Linked DNA regions of Homo sapiens: all the other regions are linked to region 2. The links are contacts of gene promoters, found by promoter capture Hi-C in human tissues and cell types (Jung and others, 2019). All regions are on one chromosome and are shown on one strand. Each heading gives the region's core, a stretch centred on a gene start or on the middle of the fragment in contact. The rest is flanking DNA. Distances are from core to core; before and after follow the strand shown.

The links. Contacts are between HindIII fragments. The study calls those that stand out against the background at their distance.
Region 1: a contact is called between the fragment with the promoter of LIMK2 here and the fragment with the promoter of PES1 in region 2, in 1 of the 25 tissues and cell types used here (dorsolateral prefrontal cortex).
Region 3: a fragment that was not itself captured here is called in contact with the fragment with the promoter of PES1 in region 2 in 1 of the 25 tissues and cell types used here (dorsolateral prefrontal cortex).
Region 4: a contact is called between a fragment that was not itself captured here and the fragment with the promoter of PES1 in region 2, in 7 of the 25 tissues and cell types used here (IMR-90 fibroblasts, adrenal gland, aorta and 4 more).

Annotation. Positions count from the first base shown.
Region 1 is chr22:31,210,985-31,213,684 of GRCh38, reverse strand. LIMK2 (LIM domain kinase 2) reads right to left here and starts at 1,387. Exons shown (of 16, transcript NM_005569.4): 1 at 1,261-1,387. The coding sequence starts at 1,276. RefSeq lists enhancers at 1-704, 1,667-1,846 and a silencer at 1,287-1,686. The HindIII fragment of the contact is 2,868 bases long and covers 97-2,700 here.
Region 2 is chr22:30,590,560-30,593,259 of GRCh38, reverse strand. PES1 (pescadillo ribosomal biogenesis factor 1) reads left to right here and starts at 1,350. Exons shown (of 15, transcript NM_014303.4): 1 at 1,350-1,450. The coding sequence starts at 1,427. RefSeq lists enhancers at 728-807, 1,028-1,327, 807-1,522. The HindIII fragment of the contact is 28,649 bases long and covers 1-2,700 here.
Region 3 is chr22:31,172,474-31,175,173 of GRCh38, reverse strand. The region is part of intron 1 of RNF185 (ring finger protein 185); the gene reads right to left. Among named protein-coding and RNA genes, the nearest start is that of RNF185, 14 kb to the right of the region's middle. The HindIII fragment of the contact is 3,103 bases long and covers 1-2,700 here.
Region 4 is chr22:31,115,230-31,117,929 of GRCh38, reverse strand. All of the region lies in intron 1 of LOC105372995 (a long non-coding RNA gene), which reads left to right. Among named protein-coding and RNA genes, the nearest start is that of INPP5J, 6.4 kb to the left of the region's middle. The HindIII fragment of the contact is 5,360 bases long and covers 1-2,700 here.

The sequences.
Region 1 (2,700 bases), core at 138-2,637, 620 kb before region 2:
GATCCTCCTGCCCTGCCCTCCCAAAGTGCTGGGATTACAGGCATGAGCCACCACGCCCAGCCTAAAAAAATTTGTTTTAGGCATTTCCACCCCTAGCTCTCTCCAGAAGTCTGTTATCACCAGTGAAGAGAAAATCCCATGCTCCCTTGCTGAGGAAGTGACCCACTGGTAGCCCAGTCCTTGCATTCAAGATGAAGGAAGTGACTGTCCACAGACGGAAAGCCAGGAAGCAGGGGGCAGATAGCCAGCCCCCCTCCACCTCAATACCCTCTTGCCGCCTCTCCAAAGCTTCTGGACGCTGACCCTGGTGGACCCAGAGGTGGGCCACCCACACAGGTGGCTGGGAAACATAGGAGACAGAAGGTTCCTACTGCTGGGGGAAAAGATGGGGAAGGCAGGAAGCTGCAGGGTGGTGTGTGAGGTGGCGGGGAGGTGACTGCAGGTGCAACTAACCCAACTCTGAAGCTACCCTTCACCCTTAGACAACTCTTCCTTCCAGGAGGTGTTTGGCCGAATCCCTCTAGTCTTTAGTCTAGAGAGGCCAAGGGAGCTTCCACAGGAGGACTCAGAACCCCAGGTGGCCTACTTTCGCCACCTGTAGCAGAGATCTTTGGGCCCCAAAAAGAATGGTCCGATCTCTCCTTACCCTTAGTCCTGTCCTAAACCTCAAGGGGCTCCATACTCCCTTATTTTCTGCAAAGAGCTCCCAGCCCCGGGGGACTCCCAGACACCAAGATGCCCGCGAGAAGCCTTGGGTCTTGGCAGGGAAGTCACATCCTCCATTTCCCTCAGAAAACCCAGAACCCGGGGTAACTCTCCTAATTGTCCTGAACCCTAGAGGATCCTGTACTCCTCAAATTCCACAGAGCTTCCACTATAAGAGAACCCCATGCTTTTCAACTTCCTTAAAAAGGGTTAATTTGGGGGTCTGCGGCCGCCAGGTCCCTCCAAAAAGCTGGATTCCTGGCAGACCCAGAATCTCTTCCTCCCCGGGACCTCAACTCGCGGGAAGCCTCCCAACCCGCCTGCCCCTCGGAGCCCTCTGTCTCCAGGATGCCCTGCCTCCCCATTCCCGGAGTCCCACCCTCCAAATGCCTGGGGAGCGCTGTGCCCACCCCGCCTCCCAGCTTTTCTGAGGAGCTCGGACCCACGAGGACCCAACCAGCCCGAAACCCCCGAGAGACAGCCGGTTTCCCTCAGGCGCCATGGAACCGGACTTCGGAGATAACAGCGGGACAGGGCGGAGCAGCCCTTCCTTACCCGCCAGCGCGGACATGGTCCCGGGAGCGCGGAAATGGGGAGGAGGAGGCGGGGGACACAGCAGCTCCCCTCAGTTCCCTACAACTCCCCTCAGCTCCTGCCGCCGCCGCCTCAGGCGCGGGAAGACCACAGCCCCAGGCGCGAACGGGATGCACCGCCTACGGCGCCCTGGGAGGACCAAACCACACCTGGCACAGGGGACTGCCCGCCGACGCCCCGCCCCGCCGCTCTCAGGCCTCGCTCCCGAGACGCGGCCCCGCCCCCTGGCTCTGGCTCGGGCTCTGCAGCGGCCCTGGCGCCCCCTAGTGCGAGCGGCGTCCCCTCGAGGTGCTCCCGCCGGTAAGGTTGATTCTGCGGGGGCCGGAAGTCTCAACACGGATGACAGTCCGCACCCATCTAGTCGCCCTCATTTACAGATAGGGAAAGTTAAGGATCAGAGGCTAAGTTCGACTACATTGAAATGGCTTCGCTCATTAGGAGGAGAGCCGGGATGGGAGCCCAGGCCTGCTAACTGCCAGTTCAGAGCTCTTTCCAGTAGTGTTTGGAATCAGGAATATTACAATGGAGGAGCCAGGTCTATCCCACAAACAGCTTTGAGGATGGACTTTTCTTAGAAGCTTCTAGCTCAGAGAAACCACTTCTCTGCGCCACTATGAGTAAGCTGACAGTAAATAATCTCTAAGTCAAAGACAGTTGGAGGCGACCAACCAGCATTCCAGGAGCAGATCCTCAGCCAGGCCAATTAGGTTTAGCGCAGGACGCTGGAGCTTGTGCGCCGCATTGGAAGACGAGCACTCCCCTGCAGGAACATGGGCCTACCATTCCCAGGTCTTCCAACCTTTCAAAACATGCCAAAAATCCAGATATTTAGGTGAAATTTGCCACTTTTAAAAAATGTTGATAGCATCAAAAAGTTCTTAAAATGCCATGTAGACCAAATGAAACACACCTGGCCACTAGATTTGCCCTGTGGGCTGCCAGTTTACAATCTTCTATGAGGAGGAGGGATTACAGGACTAAGAGTTAGGACAGCTGACTGGGTTATGGCAGCTGCTAGCTGGCTGAGTAGCTTTGAGAACCACTTCCGCTCATTAGGTTTGGAAGGAGATTGGGGTCCTCTGTGTGATTAAGATATTAATACATCATCAGCCAGGCCAGCTGGTCCCTGATGACCCACCCTCCCATCAGATTCTCTCACGCTGGGTCTTTCACAATTGTCATTTCCTTACATCAGATTTAGATCACAGGAAACATGTCCAAATGACCAGAAAGAGGATGGAGCCCAGGGAAATGGATTCTGTCCCCTCCACCCCCACCCCTGACCAAAGACAAAGTTCAACCCAGCTGCCTCTGGTCCCAGCAGTTGGGTAAGCAAAGGCAAAGGCAAAGACAAAGGCGAGCACAATTCTCTTCCTTCCTGCTCTAATTCAAACCGGATGC
Region 2 (2,700 bases), core at 101-2,600:
CTGCCTCAGCCTCTCAAAGTGCTGGGATTACAGGTGTGAGCGACCGTGCCCGGCTTCATCTCATTTTTAACTGTGGAATTGCTGGGTTTTAAATTTTAGCTTTAAATTAGATAGTGCAAGTCACATAGTTCAAAACAAGTATTCACCAGTGCTTAACGTCTGTCTCTGTGTAAGTTCTAAGACCAAGTCCTTGGGCCAGGTCACATTCACAAGAGCCTCAAATTTAAACTTTTGAGATCATCTTCGAACGAAATTTGGAATTTGGAAAAAGGGAGAAACGTTTAAAAAAAAAAAAACCTCTTAAAATTGCATCTACTTCCAGACTGCACCATCTCAAGGTGATGTGACTATTTGTATAAATCTTGGAATTATTATTTGAGGAACACTTACAGAATTTATGTGTACAAATTAAAAGCTCGAATATGTTGAATGTACATTTAATTTTATTTATTTATTTATTTTTGAGATGGAGTCTCACTCTGTCGCCCAGGCTGGAGTGCAGTGGCAAGATCTCGGCTCACTGCAACCTCTGCCTCCCAGGTTCAAGCGATTCTCCTGCGTCAGCCTCCCGAGTAGCTGGGATTACAGGCGTGTGCCACCATGGCCAGCTAATTTTTGTATTTTTAGCAGAGACGGGGTTTCACTATATTGGTCACACTGGTCTCGAACTCCTGACCTCAGATGATCCGCCTGTCTTGGCCTCCCAAAGTGCTGGGATTACAGGCGTGCGCCACCGCTCCCAGCCTTGAATGTACATTTTAAATATACCACGAGTCCACCACTAAGGCTCAGAAAATATAAGTGGCCTCTAGGATCTCTATACCTCCGCGAGGAAAAATGTCTTCCTTTTTTCTATTTTAGCCGCATAACCGCGAATGAACCAAAGAGAACCCGAAGCCGGTGGGAACTCAGCGCAGTCTCACCCTGCCCCTCGGGAACCGCTTCTCAGCAGCGGCAGCCGAAGTCTGACGACGCTTAGCAACCGTTACCTTGACAACGCAATCCTATCGCGCACCATGGAGTGCGGCGCCCCTCTGCATCCCAGAAGGCACCGCGCTGTCCCTAAGCCTTCCGCCCCTCTCCGTCCCAACATGCAACGAGGCTCACAGTCAATGAATCGTCATCAGGGTGATTACAGAAAAGCCTGTATATCCACGTTTGTTTTAACACTTAAAGTGTTTGTAACCATTGTGAGCGGGAAAGATCTGGAAAGAGTGTTCTCAGTGATTTTTTTCAGACTATAGTTTTAAATCTTGAGGAGGAAATCCCCATCTTTCCCTGGACTTGTACAGGCATCTCATTGGGCAGCCCGCACAAACAGACAGCGTGGGGTGGGGAGGGTCCTCGGGGTCCTTGGCAGGGCACGTGCGGGAGGAAGTGGAGCTCCCTGTACGCGCGGCCCTAGTCGGCTCCTCAACGTGGAGCGATGGGAGGCCTTGAGAAGAAGAAGGTGATTGGGAAAGACGGTGGGGATTCCCGAGGGGTGGGGTGCGGGGGCGGCAGAGCATGGGGTCGACTCTTTTCCCGGGCTCCGTCTCGTGGAGACTGGAAAGACGGGATCGACGTGACCGTAATCAGCTGCGAGAAGGGGTCCGAGAATGGACAAGGATGGCAGTATTCGTTTAGTGAAATCCGAGAACGAACTCCAGAGTTCTTTCTGTGGAGAGGGCTGTGAAAGAGAGTTGAACTTACCAAGCGTAGCTTCATTCCAAAAGCAGGCCGAGCCGTGGGACCACTATTTACCGAAAGGGTGATAAACATTACGTAGAGCTCACCGTTACTGCACCGTTACATTAGTTGGTTAGTGTTGTCTTGGAAGTTCTCTTCGAGGCATAACATTTCGGCTGAAATGGGAAAGATCAGAACGTCTTGGATGGGTTCTGGGGCATGGGAGTGCTTAGCGAGCAGGCCTGACAAGGGAAACCAAGTGCCAAGATCAGTAGGCAGGGAAGGCTTGCTGTGTGTAAGGAGTTGGAAGGACATTAGGATGACTCGCATGTAAACCAAGAAAAGAATGGCATCTGATAAGATTGGGGTTGGACACGTACTGTATCGTGCAAGGCCTGTAAGCTTGGATTTTATTCTAAGTGCAGTAGGAATAGTGTAGAGCTTGGATTTTATTCTACGTGCAGTAGGAAAAAAAGGAGGAGTAACACGATTAGAGTTTTTCAGGGAGTTCTTGTGGCTGTATGGAGAATCGGCCCAGTGACATGAAAAGACTGGGAAGGGAATGGGAATGAGGAATATATAGTTGGCTTAAGTGTTTCTTTCAGAGTGAAAGTTTCTATTGCCAGTGTTCTTAACCCAACACACTACATTGAGTATCCAGTGCTAGCCATCGGAACTGCAAAGATACAAGATGGAAAACCTGCCCTTGAGTTGCAGATGTAGATATGTAACAAAATCGTTACAGTTTTTAAAAGCTGGGTTTCAGAGCCAGAATCAACAAAGATGAGTCTTTGTTGTGGGAAGGATTGTCTTGTGTGTAGTAGGATATTTGGCAACATCCCTGATCCTTTACCTACTGGATACCAGTAGCACCCAGCAACCAAAAATGTCTCCAAACATTGCTGAACTCTCCTCCCCCCAGCACATACCCAGGGAGTACCCCATTGAGAACTATTTATTCCCTTAACATTTATAAGGATAAGCATGGTGACAGAGATAAGTGTGGCATAAGGTAATGGAAAACGCTATAAA
Region 3 (2,700 bases), core at 43-2,542, 580 kb before region 2:
ACCAAGCCCAGAGATAACACATATCTGAGTGGGGATTCTAGAGCCAGCTGTTCCTACTTTTTCACATTTTCGTCCACTACTTTTTTTTTTTTTTTTTAATTTGAGACGGAGGCTCGCTCTGTCGCCCAACTGAAGTGCAACGGCGCGATCTCGGCTCACCGCAACCTCTGCCTCCTGGGTTCAAGCGATCCTCCCATCTCAGCCTCCCAAGTAGCTAGGATTACAGGCACCCGCCACCACACCCAACTAATTTTTTTGGTATTTTTCGTAGAGGCCGAGTTTCAGCATGTTGGTCAAGCTGGTCTCGAACTCCTGACCTCAGGTGATCCGCCCACCTCGGCCTCCCAAAGTGCTGGGATTACAGGCATGAGCCACCACACCCAGCCTCTTCCATTATTTTTAAATACAAAGAATGTTTTGTTCATTTGTTGGGTTTTAAGCTTCAATTATTTTTGAAAAATTACCATGTTTCATTTTTAAAAAAGGACAAAATGGAGGACAAGAATGGTGGCTCACTCCTGTAATCTTAGCACTTTGGGAGGCCGAGGCAGGAGGATCAGTTAAGGCCAAGAGTTCAAAACTAGCCTGAACAATATAGTGAGACTCCATCACCAAAAAAATTTAAAATTAGCCAGGTATGGTGGCGTGTGCCTGTAGTTCTAGCTCCTTGGGAGGCTGAGGCAGGATGCTCACTTGAGCCCAGGAGCTCAAGGCTGCAGTGAGCGATGATGACGCCACTGCACTCCAACCTAGGAGACAGAAGGAGACTCTGTTTCTTAAATTAAAAAAAAAAATTTTTTTTAAAGAGTGAAATGGGATTTGTACTACCACTGGCACAAACTTTTAAGTGTCATCTAAGAAGTTGCCTTTTGTCATAAAATGTTCCTTAACTTTTTTCCTTAAAAACTAGCACGGCACAGAGGAATGTGATGGCTGAGTTCAAATCTCAGCTCTGCAACTTATTCTGTGATTTCAGACAAGTTATTTTCTTTCTGAGCCTTTGTTTTTCTCATTTGCTAAAATGAGGCTAATATCTTCCTCACAAGACAGTTCTAAGAAATAGAGATAAAACAGTACGGGACTAGCATAGTGCCTGGCACATAGTTAAGTACTCATGAAATGTTAATCCCCCTCCCTTTTAAGGTCTCTGAGTTCACTGAAGGTAAACTGTTTTTGTATATTCCTCATAGACATATGCAACCAGCAGGTACTTGGTTAATTTGCTGAGTAAATGAGTCACAACTTTCCTTTCTCAATGAGCATCATTCCTTGAATGCAGAGTAGATGAGACATCAGAACTGTGTATGTTTATGAACTGAGAGGAAATCTAAAATTAGATACAATTTGACCCAGAGAAAATCAGATTTTCCCCAAGTGTTAAAATTAGGGGACACTTGTTATATTTCTTATCACTATAAGTAACATAGCTAACACTGCTCAGCCCTCTACATGAATTATCTCATTTAATCTTTATGGCCTGCCTTTAGGTAAACACTACTGTATCATCATTAGCATCCCTTGGGATGTTAAATAAAGGCTCAGAGTAGTTAGGTCACTTGCCCATGGTCACAGACCTAGTCAGAGGCAAAGCTTCCCAACCCAAGCCAACGTCCTTAACAAATGGTAACTCAGTGATCTGTTCTTGTGCGTCTTGTCAAGCGCAGACCCAGCTTCCAGGTTCCTTACTCAGCACAGGGCTAGGTGCCTCAGGAGCACCTGATATATACATACGTGTGTGTGTGTGTGTGTGTGTGTGTCTGTGTGTGTGTGAATGAGTTGACAGATCTGATGCCCAGGAGCAATTAGAACTGTACAACTCAATATAGCCAACTAGAGTTGTGGAAAATCAGTATCCTATAACAGCAAAACATGCTGTTCAGAACTGGAAATGTTACATAACTTAGAGTCAATTTTTTTTTTTTTAAGTATTACCCAAAACTCTTACACAAATGAAAAAAAAATTGAGGGATCTGCAACCAGAAGTAGTTTCAAGTTTTCTCAAATTTCTCCCTATTAAAGATAACATACTCACACAGAGGTTTGGTTATCCACTGAACTATTACCCACTCCAGTGAGATACCTCCTAGGGCCAACAGCACAGTTCCTGACAGGAAGTAGATGTTTGATTAAGGTATGTGAATGAATGAAGGGGATTTAATTTCAATCAAACCAATACAGCTGAGGAAAATAGTGTTTTAAAGAAAAGCTCTTCAGACTGGACAGATACCAGTCAAGGGCTGTGAATTTCTAGTATAACACCATGAAAGAAATAATCTGGAGCCAGAGGACTTAGCCTAAGGCTCAGGTCTGTCACTCACTATGCCAGTGTCCTTACCTGCAAATGGGGAATAATTGTTCCAGCCATCCCTTTGTCATGAGAAAAGTTTAAAAAATAAGGGTTTTGCTTTTTTTTTTTTTTTTTTTTGAGACGGGGTCTCACTCTGTTGCTCAGGCTGGAGTGTAGTGGCAAGATCTTGGCTCACTGCAACCTCTGCTTCCTGGGTTCAAGTGATTCTCCTGCCTCAGCCTCCTGAGTAGCGGGGACCACAGGTGTGCACCATCATGACTGGCCAATTTTTGTATTTTTAGTAGAGATGGAGTTTCACCTTGTTGGCCAGGCTGGTCTTGAACTCCTGACCTCAGGTGATGCGCCTGCCTCGGCCTCCCAAAGTGCTGGGATTACAGGCATGAGCCACCGCG
Region 4 (2,700 bases), core at 63-2,562, 520 kb before region 2:
GTAATCCATGCCCATTACACAAAACACAGAAGGAAAACATTTACCTATAATTTCATCCACCAAGAAATAATCGTTCTGACTTATTGGTTTGTTTCCTTATAGATATTTTTTGGTGGGGGCGGGGGTCTAGGCATATATATTTATATATACATGTTGTATATAATATGCATATATATTTATATACATGTTGTATATAATATGCATATATATTTATATACATGTATATTTACATATACGTGTTATATATTTTATATAGCTATATCTATTTTTTGAGATGGAGTCTCACTCTGTCGTCCAGGCTGGAGTGCAGTGGCATGATCTCAGCTCACTGAAACCTCCACCTCTGGTCCAAGCAATTCTCCTGCCTCAGCCTCCCGAGTAGCTGGGATTACAGACATGCACCACCATGCCCAGCTAATTTTGTATTTTTAGTAGAGACAGGGTTTTGCCTTGTTGACCAGGCTGGTCTTGAACTCCTGGACTCAAGTGATCCACATGCCTTGGCCTCCCAAGTGCTGGGATTACAGGCGTGAGCCACCAAGACTGGGCCTATACATGTTTTATAGAATTGGTTGGTTACTGTGTTGCTGCCACAATGTCCAGCAACACAGTAGGGTTAGGGTTAGGGTTAGGATCCTGTTAAGGTTGCAGCCCATCTCCTTCTTAACAGGAACTGGAATATGGTGGACCCCACCCTCAGCTTCAGGAATGGGTCCCAGTTGGTTAAGCCAGTAAGCAATTCCCATTTCCCCAGGCACATGATTAGATCACGAATGAACTAGCAAGATACAAGGAAATTTTTGCTCAGGGCTTTTGGGAAAGGAAGCTTATTTTCTCTCCTGAGGAGGCTGCCAAAAAAGATGATCTTCCTTCCATTAGATGTAAATGAAGAGGCCAATGGCTCTAGTTACTGCTGGCAGCCATCTTTACACCATGTAGAAAATTGGCCTACTGATAAACTGACATTATGGAAAGCAGAATGGAGAGACACCAGGCTTTGGTGACTTCATTAACTGGATCAAACTTCACCTGAAGCCCCACCTGCCATTGGACTTTTTTTTTCTTCTTTTTGAAATGGAGTCTCAATCTGTCGCCCAGGCTGGAGTACAGTGGCACGATCTTGGCTCACTGCAACCTCCGCCACCCAGGTTCAAGCGATTCTCCTGCCTCAGCCTCCCGAGTAGCTGGAGTTACAGGTGCCCACCGCTGCGTTTGGCTAATTTTTGTATTTTTAGTAGAGACGGGGTTTCGCCATGTTGGCCAGGCTGGTTTCAAACTCCTGACCTTAGGTGATCTGCCCGCCTCAGCCTCCCAAATTGCTGGGATTACAGGCGTCAGCCACTGTGCCTGTCCTGGACTTTTAAAATTATTTGAGCCAACAGAGTCCCTTTATTTATTTATTTATTTAGAGACTGAGTGTCGCTCTGGCACCCAGGCTGGAGTGCAGTGGCGCAATCTTGGCTCACTGAAACTTCCACCTCCCGGGCTCAAGCAATTCTCTTCCTCAGCCTCCTAAGTAGTTGGGATTACAGGTGTGCACCATCATGCCCAGCTAGTTTTTGTGTTTTTAGTAGAGAGGGGGTTTCACCATGATGGCCAGGCTGGTCTCCATCTCCTGACCTCAAGTGATCTGCCTATCTCGGCCTCCCAAAGTGCTGGGATTACAGGCATGAGCCACTGGGCCCAGCCCCTTTATTTTTATTATTTTTTGACACAGGGTCTTACTCACATTGCCCAGGCTAGAGTGCAGTGGTACGATCTTGGCTCACTGTATTATTTTTTATTTTTTATAGGAGATGGGGTCTCACTCTGTCTCCCAGGTTAGAGTGCAGTGGCATGATCATAGCTCACTGTAGTCTTGAACTCCTGGGCTCAAGCAGTCCTCCCACCTCAGCCTCTGGGGTAGCTGGGACTACAGGCACTGCCATGCCTGGCTAGATTTTAAATATCTTTTTTTAGAGATGGGTTCTCACTATGTTGTCCAGGATAGTTTGGAACTCTTGGCCTCAAGTTATCCTCCTGCCTCAGCCTCCTGAGTAGCTGGGTTTATAGACACAAGCCACCACAACCAGCTCCCTTTATTGTTTAAGCCAGTTTAAATTGGGGTTTCTATGACTTGCAGCCCACAGCATCACAACTCCCAATTGATATTACCAGATTACTGTTTTTGTTGCTTTTTTCTTGCTATTTAATACCATAACCACGAACATTCTCCATGTCATTCCATCTATGCTGCATCTTTTTTTTTTTTTTTGAGATAGAGTCTCACTCGCCCAGGCTGGAGTGCAGTGGTGCGATCTCAGCTCACTGCAACCTCTGCCTCCTGGGTTCAGGCAATTCTCTTGCCTTAGCCTCCCAAGTAGCTGAGATTACAGGCAGCCATCACCATGCCCAGCTAATTTTTATATTTTTAGTAGAGATGGGGCTTCACCATATTGGCCAGGCTGCTCTCAAACTCCTGACCTCAGGTGATCCGCCCACCTCGGCCTCCCAAAGTGCCGGGATTACAGGCGTGAGCCACCCACGCCCAGCCTGCTGCATCATTTTTAACAATTGCATGGTTTTCCATCCTATGGAGGTACACTCATTAATTTAACTCATCCCCTGCTGTGACATGCTTAGGTTATATCCCCAGTTCTTCACCACGATAAATGGTATTCTAATAAACAAGCTTGACCTAACAATCCTCTCTCTGATGAT